2 separate regions of the Homo sapiens genome follow, and region 2 is linked to region 1. Evidence: promoter capture Hi-C in 16 types of primary human blood cells and fetal thymus (Javierre and others, 2016). All regions are on one chromosome and are shown on one strand. Each heading gives the region's core, a stretch centred on a gene start or on the middle of the fragment in contact. The rest is flanking DNA. Distances are from core to core; before and after follow the strand shown.

Evidence for each region. The method cuts DNA at HindIII sites, captures the fragments that hold promoters and counts their contacts. A CHiCAGO score of 5 or more calls a contact.
Region 2: a contact is called between a fragment that was not itself captured here and the fragment with the promoter of PHYHIP in region 1, in 2 of 17 cell types (non-activated CD4 T cells and naive CD4 T cells). The highest score is 6.1, in non-activated CD4 T cells.

What each region holds. Positions count from the first base shown.
Region 1 is chr8:22,228,204-22,233,719 of GRCh38, reverse strand. It overlaps PHYHIP (phytanoyl-CoA 2-hydroxylase interacting protein), which reads left to right and starts at 1,621. Exons shown (of 5, transcript NM_014759.5): 1 at 1,621-1,924; 2 at 5,334-5,516. The coding sequence starts at 5,363. RefSeq lists enhancers at 1,244-1,991, 2,917-3,086, 5,191-5,516, 5,148-5,516. The HindIII fragment of the contact is 17,584 bases long and covers 1-3,881 here.
Region 2 is chr8:22,916,089-22,921,752 of GRCh38, reverse strand. It overlaps PEBP4 (phosphatidylethanolamine binding protein 4), which reads left to right. Exons shown (of 7, transcript NM_144962.3): 3 at 1,443-1,569. Among named protein-coding and RNA genes, the nearest start is that of PEBP4, 9.0 kb to the left of the region's middle. RefSeq lists an enhancer at 1,279-2,207. The HindIII fragment of the contact is 1,575 bases long and covers 2,731-4,305 here.

The DNA of each region.
Region 1 (5,516 bases), core at 372-2,871:
TTTTGCATCTCTTCTGAGCTCACCAGCTCGGCGTGGGTATGTCGGAGCAGGACGTAGTCATGCTTGGCCAAGGGGGTGCTTAGTCCTGCCTCAGTGCCACGCACCACCCCACATTCGGCAGTTCAGGACCTGGCCAGGCTCACTGAGGTTCTCACAGCCGTTTCAGGCAGGGTTGGCTTCTGCTTGTCTTTGCATTCTGTGAACTCTCACTTTCTGCTGCTGTTACCTCCTCTGACTTTTGCACTGAGGCCTGCCGCCTCAACTCCCTCTTGGTGAGTGTTTCTTAGGCTCAGCTCACACCTTCTCCTGCTCACCAAGACCTCACCCTGGGCCTGCCTGGTGTCAGCTGCCCCCGTGCCAATCCTCCCCACCCCAGCCGCACTCCTGCTTCCACAGCCTCCTCTGGCCTGCACCCTGCACGTGCCCTGGAGCCGCCCATTGTTCTTTCTCTGAATGAGTATCTGTGCCCTACGATTTAGTTGTGTGCTCCTCATTCTCTAATTGCATCCTCTAAATGGCCATCTTCTCTCCCGTAGAGGACTGTGGGCTCCTTGCAGGAAGATGCTGTCGATATGATGGGAACAAGAACAGTTCTGACATGTGACTGGCACTTCTGATGTGCCAGGCCCAGGGCTGGGCGATTTACCTAATTATTTCATTCCATGATGACAATAAACCTGTGTGATCCCACTTGACAGATGAAGAGAGGTTGAGTGGCTTGTCCAAGGTCCCCCAGCTGGGTAGCAGTAGAGCAGGGATTCTCAGCACATCCATCTGACTGTGAGCCTGTGCTTTTCACCACTGCGCAACCCTCTGTCCCTGCTTGCTGCTGGACTCACATTTCCTTGGATGTTCTTCCCGATGGCCTCCACGGAGTCTGCTTCTTGATGGCAGAACAGCCTCCTGCTGCCGTGAGAGCAGAATTACATTCTCTCCCCAAGATGCCCAGGGCCGGCTTCCTTTGTGCTCAGAGAGTGGGGTGGGCTGAGGACACTCAGAGCTTGGTGTGTTCTCCCACCCCCATTTTCTTACCCCTGTGCACCCTGCACTGTGCCACAGCCTCTCTCCCAGCCCCTTTTCCTGTGGACCCCCAAGCTGCCAGAGGGTTCTTGCCAGACCCACAGGGATCCCTGAGCTGCAGGTCTGCCATCTCTCTCTAGAGTTGGTAAGAAAATGGAACCACAGTTCACCAAAAGGCCCCAAGGAGAGGCTCCGGACTGAAGACAGCCACCCCAGCTTCACACCCCCCATCTGGACCTTTCCCCTCTACAGCCTCCCTCCCCTTCCCCCAATCAGAGTCTTTGCTTTGGGGCCCAAGCCCTTGGCTAAGCTCCACCCCTCTCCCAGCATCCTAAAGTTTGGGGGCTGCATTCAAGTCAGAGATTTCCAAGTAGGGGGTGTGTTGGAGGGACTTCTGAGGGCAGCTTGTCCTGGAAGAATGGGGGAAAGGCGGCGTGTGTTGCTGTCCCTGAGGACATCTGTGTAGCTCCCTGGGAGACCCTCTGCCCTTTCCCCCTCCCACCAGCCCGGCGAGCAGGGACCAAGCCTGCTTATTATCACCTGACGCTGCGCAGCCGCTGATCCCATTGGTGGAGGCAGATTCGGTCTGGCTCTCTCGTTCTTTCTCCCTTCTCTGCCTCTCTCTCCTCCACGCTGCTTTGATTTCGCTCTTGCCTCTCTTCTTGCGCTGCTCAGCTGGGAACATCGTCTCACCAGGGGCAGCAGCGACGCGCTGCACAGCCAGACAGGAGCTGGCTGCGGGGCATGGAAGCAGCCTCCTTGGCAGCCGGGAGAGGAGCAAGCGCACGCCACTGCCCGTGACCCAGGCGTCCGGCTGCTGTCCCCTGCCGGGGAGCTCATCCACGCAGAGGTCTCTCCCTGTCCTCCCTGCGAGCTTTTCCTCTGCAGAGCCCAGTGGAGCCAGGTGAGTACCCTTCCTCCCTGGAACCTGCTGCTGTTGATCCTGAGTAGCCGGGATCTGGGGGCTCTAGGGTCCTGCCACCACCCAGGGTGCCCACCTGGACTGCCAGGCCTGACGACCTTGTCCCCTCTCCCCCCCCCCGGCCAGGCCTTTGGCAAAGTGGTTAATGGCTGAATCCAGTCTCTGGGGCACCACAGTTAGTCACCCCGTGACCGTTCTGCTGCAGTCAGCGATGCCAACAGGGACAGCAGGGTGGGGGAAGCATTCCCTGTGGCAGGGTGGCTGTTTGAATGGGCATGGGGAAGGGGCACCGGTGTGCGCGGCGTGTGTGTGTGCGCGCTCGCGAGTTGGCTGGAGGCTTGCTGGCGCAGATAGGTCCGTCTGTCCGCAGTCATGCTCATGTGTGGGTTTTGAATGGTGTGAGGCATGTCTAGAAACATATCTTTCTGGCACACGTGAGGTACATGTGTGTGGGGGACTTATTTGAGTAGCCTGTGGGTGTGCGTGGGTGGGGACACTATGAGGCAGTATATTTAGGGGTAACCATGTCCCTTTTCATGTGTGTGGGAGTGTATGCAGACAGGGGCTTTCTATATGGGGAGGTGAGACCCAGAGCAGGATGGAGTGGGTAAAGAGAAGAAGGGGCAGAAACCATTGTCTGTGGGCAGAGCCACGTAGGTGCACAAACCTGTTGGCATGAAGGCTCAGGGCTGGCAGAGTGTGGCCAGAGGCAAACACATTTTCAAAGTCTGTCTTTGAGCCTGGAGATGATTCGAGAGAGAATACCAGACTTCGGGCGGGGGCTGCTGTGTGTATGAACACACATGTGTGTGCCGGCAGGCGTGTGGGTTGCGTGCCTTCTTGTGGAGGTGGCACACATGCATGTTGGTGCCTGTGGCATCCTCTTTTCCCCACATATGGCTTGTGAGGCGGTGTGCGTGGACGTGTGTGTGCGTGAGCCTGTGGACATGAACATGTCTGGGTGTGCATGGAGGTGACAGATTGAAGAGGGAAAACTGTGGGGCATTCTTAGAATGTGGAAGGTGGCAGCAGGCACCTGAATGTGGAGATGGGTGTGTGGGAGTGAGGACATCTGCGGAGGTGTGGGACGCGGGTGGGTGGGCACTCTTGGCGCATGTGTGTATGCGCGTGCGTGCCTGCCTGTGTGTGGGTGTGTACATGCCTGTCTTGGGGTGGATCCACACAGGAGTGTGGGTGTTTCTCGGGTGTTGCCTCAACCTGTCCCTCACACCCTGCCCTTCCCCAGTCTTCTGGGTGTAGAGAACTTGGGTTCACACCCACCCCTCTGTCCACCCCAGCTCACTCACTGCCACCCTCCCAAGCTAGCGGGGGGATGTCATCTCAGCTTTCCCAGAACCGTAGGGAGGGAGGGACAAGCAGACACCCAGGTCCTGGAGACCCCTACCGCCAAACACAGCTGCCCCTATTTCTAGGAGGACTCCAAGGAGAGGCAGGAATAGGTGCCTACTCATGGGACGAGTGTGGGCTGCCTCCGAGCGTGTGGGTGGGTGCCGCTCAGGGCCTCTTGGGTAGGAGTGTGTCTGTGTTCGTGTGTGTGTGTGCGTGTGTGTGTGTGAGGGGCACATGTGTGTCTCCCTGGGAGCTTCTCACCAGGTTCCCAAGAGATGGTAACTCCCCACTGCTCCACACCTGTCCCCATGAATTACAAACTGGTTTATTATGGTAGGGTTGTTTCCAGACACTCAATCCCATCTGCCTGATTTTGGGGTGGGCCTGGTAGCACCGCCATGCTTATTTACCATAGGATTCCCCATGCACAAAGCCACCGGCATTTGGCTGTGGGGTGGGAGGCTAAGATGAAACAGGACTTGAGTGACACCTGGAGCAGGTAAGGGCCATCACCTTTAGCCTTCACCCTGTACTTGCCATCCAGGCAACTCACAGGTTAATACAGAGGTGCCAGGCTCTGGAGCAAGCTTAATTGACAGGAAGGTGTGGGCTGGATCCTCTGGAAGCTATAAATAAAAGTACCTGCTTTTGCAGGCACAAGATGCCCTCACCACTAGCTCCTGGGCAAGGGGAGGAGAAAAAGAGGGGAGAAAGAAGAGAAGGAGGTGACATTTAGAAAAATGAGGGGTGCCAGGAACTGGGCTGGAGGAAGGGATTGGAAAGCAGGAGACCAAATGCCCCTGGAGAATGCCCCACCCACGTCTGCTGTCCCCTCCCAGACGCTGTCACTCCCCTTCCCTTTGCTCTTCCCCATCCCGGAGCTAGGCCAGCCAGGCCAGAGTCATGGCCAGAGTCAGCTCTTCCCAGCTAAAGCACACATGAGAGTGACCGTGATGAGGTCCTCTCATACCTGGACGAGCAGCAGACATAAGGGGAGAACCAAAGGAGTAAGACAGGGAGGGGAGAGAAAATGCAGTTGCTTGAAAGGAAACGATGGAAGGAGGAAAAATGCCAGGTGGAAACACCATGGGCACCCATGCATGCACACACGCCACACATGTGCCCCTCCACCCCCACACATGAGGGGACACTATCTTAGCTTAGTGATCAAGAGCTTGGGTGCCGGAGTTCAAATCATTTGCTCTCTGCGTGGCCTTGGGCATGTTAGTACCTCCCCAACCTCAGTCGCCTCATCTGTAAAATGGAGATAATGATAGTGTGTGCCTACTTCCAAGGTTGCATGAGACGTCTGTGAAATTATGAGCACATGGCCGGCCCCTAATAGATGTTAATGTTAAAAGTCATGATTGAAAGGAGTCAAGAGAAGATTGGCCGAAAGAGAAAGAGGGATCATCAAAAAAAGTTATGGGTGGAAAAAGAGCTTGAAGCCGGCTGTGCCGCGTACCCCTCCCACCACGAATGTGTCCACATGCACCAACGTGGCACTTGTCCTTCCAGCCATGTACCGCGGCAACGCTTGCTGACCCCAGTGAGGAGAGAGGCCTGAATCCGAGGGCCCTGGCACCTGTGAGCTCTTGGCTGTCACCTGCCCCAAGCCTCGCACCTCCGCTCCACAGCAGGTGCTTCCTGCGTTTCCTCCGCCTCTCACCCGTCCTCTCCACCCCCACCCCTTTCTCTTTTCACGCCTGCTGGCTGAGGGCCCCCTCCCTCCTCGGCTCCATCTGCTGCAAATCTGTCCCCGCCCGGCTTTGCAGCATTCCCACTGCCTCTGCCACCTGTCAGGTGCCGTCTGCTCTGCAGACCCCTCCGAGGAGAGCAAAGAGCCCCCCGGGCAGGCACCCCTTTCCACCCTCCATCATCCTTCTCCAGCCTCCCCTGTACAGTCTTTCCCATCTGGTTCATGAGGCATGTGGATTCCAGGGGTCCTTGAGGTTCCGCCTCGAAAGGGATATTGGGAGGAGGACATTCCAGAAAGCTCGCCGGGGTCAAGGGATGTACTGACCCTTTCCCTCCTCCTCAGTCCCCACAGGAGACAACCCTGACGGGAGCATGGAGCTGCTGTCCACGCCCCACAGCATTGAGATCAACAACATCACCTGCGACTCCTTCCGCATCTCCTGGGCCATGGAGGACAGTGACCTGGAGAGGGTCACCCATTACTTCATTGACCTTAACAAGAAGGAGAATAAGAATTCCAACAAGT
Region 2 (5,664 bases), core at 2,269-4,768, 690 kb before region 1:
CTTGCCATCCACCAAGAATTGCTGTAAATGCGCAAAGAGTTAGAAGAAACAAACTTGCTCAGCAAGCCCATGACTCATCCGGCTTCCACTCTCTGAGACCAGAGCATGTGACTTCTGGCACTGGGGGCGCTGGCCCACCGAAGTGTCCTGGTCCGGGGCTGCCAGGTGCTGGGGGCTCAGCGGCCTTTTGCCCAAGGCTGGACTTCAGGAGCCACTGGAAGGGTGGGAGGTGGAAGGTGGGAGGGGCAATGCAGGGTTCCCCACCAGGAAGCTGCTCTTGGCCTACTCCCAGGCCCCAGGTTCAGGGAGCTCCCTTTCCAGATCTATTCTCCAAATTACATCCTCACAGGGTCCCCTTAGATATCACCCCCAGCAAGGCACTGTGGACCGCTGTGGGTGGCTACCGGCAGGCTGTAGAGCGGCTTAGCCCTGCAAGGTGTTAGGAAAGGCTGGGGACCTGCAACACCCACTCTCTACCCACACCCTTTCTCTCTCAGTGATGTCTTAACCCTCGTTAACCCTACAGAGGACTTAGGTCATGGAGATAAATTATAATAGAAGGGCAAGCAAAAACAGTTTTAAAAAATGTCTTTGAAAAATCTTACCTGTGTTCCTGAGTGTCAAATATAAGCATGCACTTACAGCCAGCCTGGTGCTGTCATGGCCCAGCCCGGCCTGCCCTGCCCTGCAGGCTCTGTTGCCTTGCTCTGCATCATATTTTCTTCCCTTCCAGGAAGCCACATTCTTAGAACCCTGGTGCTGTTCGGGCCCTTCTTCTCAGGGAGCAAATACATGAACTGGTTCATTCATACTGACAGTCTTAGTGAGCCAGTGTTTTACCCCCTGAGGGATGTTTGCATTTTGAAAGAGAACCTAGGCTACAGTCAATGCTTAACCCAAAGAAGCCAATTCTTCACCTAATGGTGGGATTTCAGGCATGGGGAGCTCTTGATTGTTTAGGGGAGAGAGAAGGTCTATGCCCTTGAAGGAAGCTGTGCTGACTTGCTAAGCTTTTCTTTCTGTAATAAGAATGTTCCTGAAAAGCAATCTATAGGTATTGTTTTTATAAACTCAATCCTACTTTAAAGACACTAAGTTTGCCTAAGGATATCTGTTCTTCTAGGGAAGTAAAGGCTGATGATAATTAATATTATACTTTCTGATGACTTACAACGTGCCAGGTTCTGTTCTGACCATTGACCGCCACTTTTCTTCTCACACTGACTCCATGAGGGAGGAATTATTAGTGTCTTCGTTTTACAGGTGAGGAAACTGAGGCACAAGGAGGTCAAGTAACTCTTCGGTCACACAACTAGTTAGTGGCAGGTTTAGGATTTGATCCCATTTCACTTTACATTCCCAATAGTGCTAGACTGAAGCCTTGGGAACCCCAGGCTCCCTTAAAACCCTGACACAGGGCAACCTCCCCTCTCTCTTCATAGGGGCCTTGAAGTTTTCTACCCAGAGTTGGGGAACATTGGCTGCAAGGTTGTTCCTGATTGTAACAACTACAGACAGAAGATCACCTCCTGGATGGAGCCGATAGTCAAGTTCCCGGGGGCCGTGGACGTGAGTGAGCAGGGCTGTGTTAAAGCGGGGGGACAGTTGGGGGTCTTGATGTTCCTCCAGGCTTGCTCATCTGGGTGACTTGAAGCTGCGTGCAGAGCCATCTGGGTTGGGTCTGGTGGCTGCAGATGGCTGTTGCCATAAAGTTGTGCCTTCCTTAGAGTGGACTTGAGGAGAAGGCTGGGGGCTGGTGGGAGGGCTGCAGACTGGAAACTTTGGTGATGGTTGAGGCCATTCTGCCCAGGCCTTTTCCTGCTCCCCTGCTCTGGGAGCTCCTTGGCTGCCCCTGAGATCTGGGACCCCAAGCCTGGTGGAGACCAGCTGGTGTGTGCTTTGGAGTTGGCAGATAAGTGGAAGAAGGCGTGGTATGGGAGGAGTCCTCTCTCAAGGCGCGGGGTGCCTGGGCCTTCAGATGGCTTCTGGGCTGGAGAGAAGCTGGTATTTACCAAGACAGAGCTTCCCAAGTTGCCTAAACAGGCAGAGGTCAGTGCATCTTGACGCTTTGTTGTCACAACATGAGACACGCTCTTCTTTTGCCCAAAGTTGTGTAAAAGAAGAACAAAGCATTTTAGGAACTGGAAATAACTATTTTACTGGGCAGTGATTAGTGCTATTACATTTAGGGGTCTGGAAAGCCTGGGGAAGAGTCATAGAAGTGGGAAATGGGTCTGCTGCTGCCCTAAGCAGCCAGAGTGTGTTTTGGGGAAGCTGATCTGGCCTTCTGGTCTCCGCTTCTTTATTTCTTGACTCCTGGGCCAGACTGAGCCCGCAGAGTGTCAATGGTGGAGACTGGCCTCTTTTCTGCTGTGTTTTAGAAGGAGGTGCTGCTGTCAATCTAGGCAGGACTTGGGTCACAAATGCCTGGAGATGGAAGGGTCGTGGCCGGGATGTGACCAAGCACACACACCAAGGCTGACCTTCTGGTCCTTTCTGTGCAGGGTGGCAGGGAAGGGCCACAAGGGGTTCTTCCTTCCCCTCAGTGCTGCCTTGGTTAGGCCTCATGCAGTCAGCTAAGCCCAGTAGGACAACAAGCTCCAGAGGGCGGCAGCACACAAGTTACTCCAATGCGGGGAATAGACTCTTCTCTTTGAAGTGTTTTTCACTATCAGAGAGCAAATAGATTGTGATATGGCTCGCAAGTTATGAGGCTGTTGTCATGAAGCTTTGCTAGGTTGTCTTGTTTGCAAACACGACAAACACCCTTTCCTTTGGGAAGACGAGCAATAAAGTGCACACGTGCACATGTGTGCACATGTGCACACACACACTTGCATGCACACCCATGTGCACACAGCGTCAGCCCTCTTCCCTGGAAACCCTTGGACTGGGCACACCTGTGGACAGCCAAGAGGAGCAGAGAAAGGAAGCCTGCTGATTCTAACTCCTGGGATGGGAGGTGCAGAGGCCGGGCAGGAACCCAATCTTTTAGAGGAGTATATGCTACTCTGCGGGACAGGACTCTCGGCTTCACCATCCATTCACTTGTCTTGGGGTTTGTCCCTTATGTAGTGAGGGTCAGTCGGATGCTTTCACAGGCCAGGGACAGTCCCAAGGGAATTCTCCCCAAAGGGCTCCCTTCCGCGTGCTGATGATGCTGCAGACATCCACTAGATGGCAGTGTAGACTTTTCTGAGCACCTGGTGTCCTCCAGAGCAGGGATTTGAAGCCTGTTGGGAAAGTCTTTGGTTTGATTTGGTTTCGTTGCCCTGGCTTATCAGCACATTACACAAAGACGACATCACCCACGCCACATCCTGAAGTCTTGTACTGTTAAACCCATCCTGCCTCAGCCCGGGGGTGGGGTGGGGAGAAAACGGATGTGGAACATAGAGATTTATGAGGAACACAGAGCTGTGGTCAAGAAAGCCTGGGAGAGTGAAGATTTTACAAAGGAAGATTTGATCGAAGCTGTGGGAAGAAGAAAAACATAGTATTCTACTACTATGGAACTATAGTTTATGGAAATGTAACAGACCTATGAGAAGGCAGATTCAGAGAGATTTGCCAAAGTGGTCAGTGAGTGCCACCTTATTCCATTCCTGGGCACTACTCGGACCTTTCATTTAAGTCTCCAAGTTAAGTATTTCTTTCATCAAGACTATTAATGGCATGTGACAAAAAGTCAACTCAAATCGGCTTAAGCCAGAAAAGAGGGGGAAACATTGGTTCACAAAACTGAAAACTCCAGGGATAACTTCAGGCGAGGCTGGATCCAGGTGCTCAGTGTCACCAGGAATCTGTCTCTTGATTGTTTTTTTCTGTGCTGTTTTCATTTGTAAATAGAGTCTTCCCTTGTGACAAAGATGGCCCCAACAGCCTTAGGTTTGTGTTTGACCAATTTGTCAACCCCAGTGGAAATAGGGTTTTCCATCCATTAAAAGTCACAGGATTGGTCTCGCTTTGGTCTTGTGCCTATCCCTGAACCTAGCAGTGACCCTCTACAGCTCCCCTTAATCTACAAGGACTGAGAGTAGAGGAGGATGGTTGCCCTGAATGCAAGTCAAGGTGTGATTGATCAGATAAGGGTGAAAGGATGTTAGGTAGGAAATGCAAGGCAGGTCCTATGGAAGTGAGTAATCTGGCCAAGTACAGAGCTGAAAGGTGCCAGAGCCAGAGTCAAAGCCAGGTCTGCCCAACTCCAGAGCCCATGGGCCTGGCCAGTGGGCCACTGGCAAGGGCTCTAAGGGAGACACCAGGGGGCGCTGGCACAGGCAGGGGTGGGCTGGCCGAAGGGAAGCTTTCCCTGGTTAGAATGGAAGGGGGTGGGCAGGAAGGATAGTTCTTCCTAGGGAAGGTGGTAGTTGGAGCTTCCCTTAAGGGAGAGGGCATGACTGGTGAGGCTGGAGGAGCAAGTGCTACCTGGGTCCCTCAAGAAAAGGGTGCGGGGAGCCTGAGTGTTTAGGACAGAGAAGAGCATGAAGGTATTTCTTCTGGGCCTGATGGAGAAGGGCACGAGTTGGTGACTGCTATGTGGGGATGGTGCATTGCTTCCAAGGTGACTGAAGCAATGCCACCAAAGCAGTGACTGCCATTGGACATGCCTGGGAACACCCCCCCCTCCCCCGCCCCCAGCAAACTCCAAAGCCCTGGAAAGAGGGGTGCAGCAGTGCCTCTGTGCCCACCATAGAGCTTCCCACCTCCATATTCTGGCATTGGCCACTTCCCCATCCTTGGCGTCTTTGGACCCTGCTCCCGTCACAATGCTTCCTCCTCTAGGAAGCCTTCCCTGACTGCCTCCCTCTGGGCTCCACCTACATCCCTGGCTGATCTTTTCTTTCTCTGTGCTTTTAAAATGTTCCTACCCTCTAAACTGGGTTTTGACTTCCCTGTGTCTTGTGCTGTAGTTGCTCATTCCTGTCTCTCAAAGCTTCAAGCACTTTGTAAGTTAGGAGAGAAAGACTATGTGTTGTCTTTCTTTGAGTCACCCGTGGGCCCCACCAGCACCTCAGATGCCATGCTGGCTGACTGGGTGACTAGGTGAGAGAGTGAACAGGTGAATGCATGAATGCATGAATGCATGAATGAATGAATGAATGAATGACATGTGGGAGAGCATCTCCTGGAGTGTGAGCTATGAGCTGTGTCAGCCAAACTGTCGGCCCTTTCAGCATCTGTTGAAGGAAAGCTGCTAAACCTAGTGAACCCAGGGCAGCAGGACTCTCTCCTCCCCCTAGGGGTGGGGTGTGAGCTGGGGGGTGGGTGGGGAAGCAGGCAGAGAAAGAGAGGAAGTCAGGCAGGTTCATGAGAAGGCAAAGTAACACAGGAAAACGTGGCTGGCTCCCGTGCCAGCTATGGCTGAGCGAGAGAGGTGTGGAAGTAAGAGGAAGCGTTTCTCCCCTGGCGCTCTGACAAACATGAAGAGGCAAACATTTAAAAATGCATCCCGTTCTCAAGCCAAGGAAAACTGAAAGGCCCCTGAGAAGCTTCTTGACTGGGGGCTTATTCTCCACCTTAAATTTCGCCAGCTGGAATCCTTTTGAAGTGCAGAAATTGCCTTTAAGTGGGGAATGTGCATTGCATTACAGGGAGGGAACAAAAGGCTGCCTCGGTCTGTCCTGCTCTCCCTGGAGTTTCCAATCAGGCTTGGCCCAGGCACTA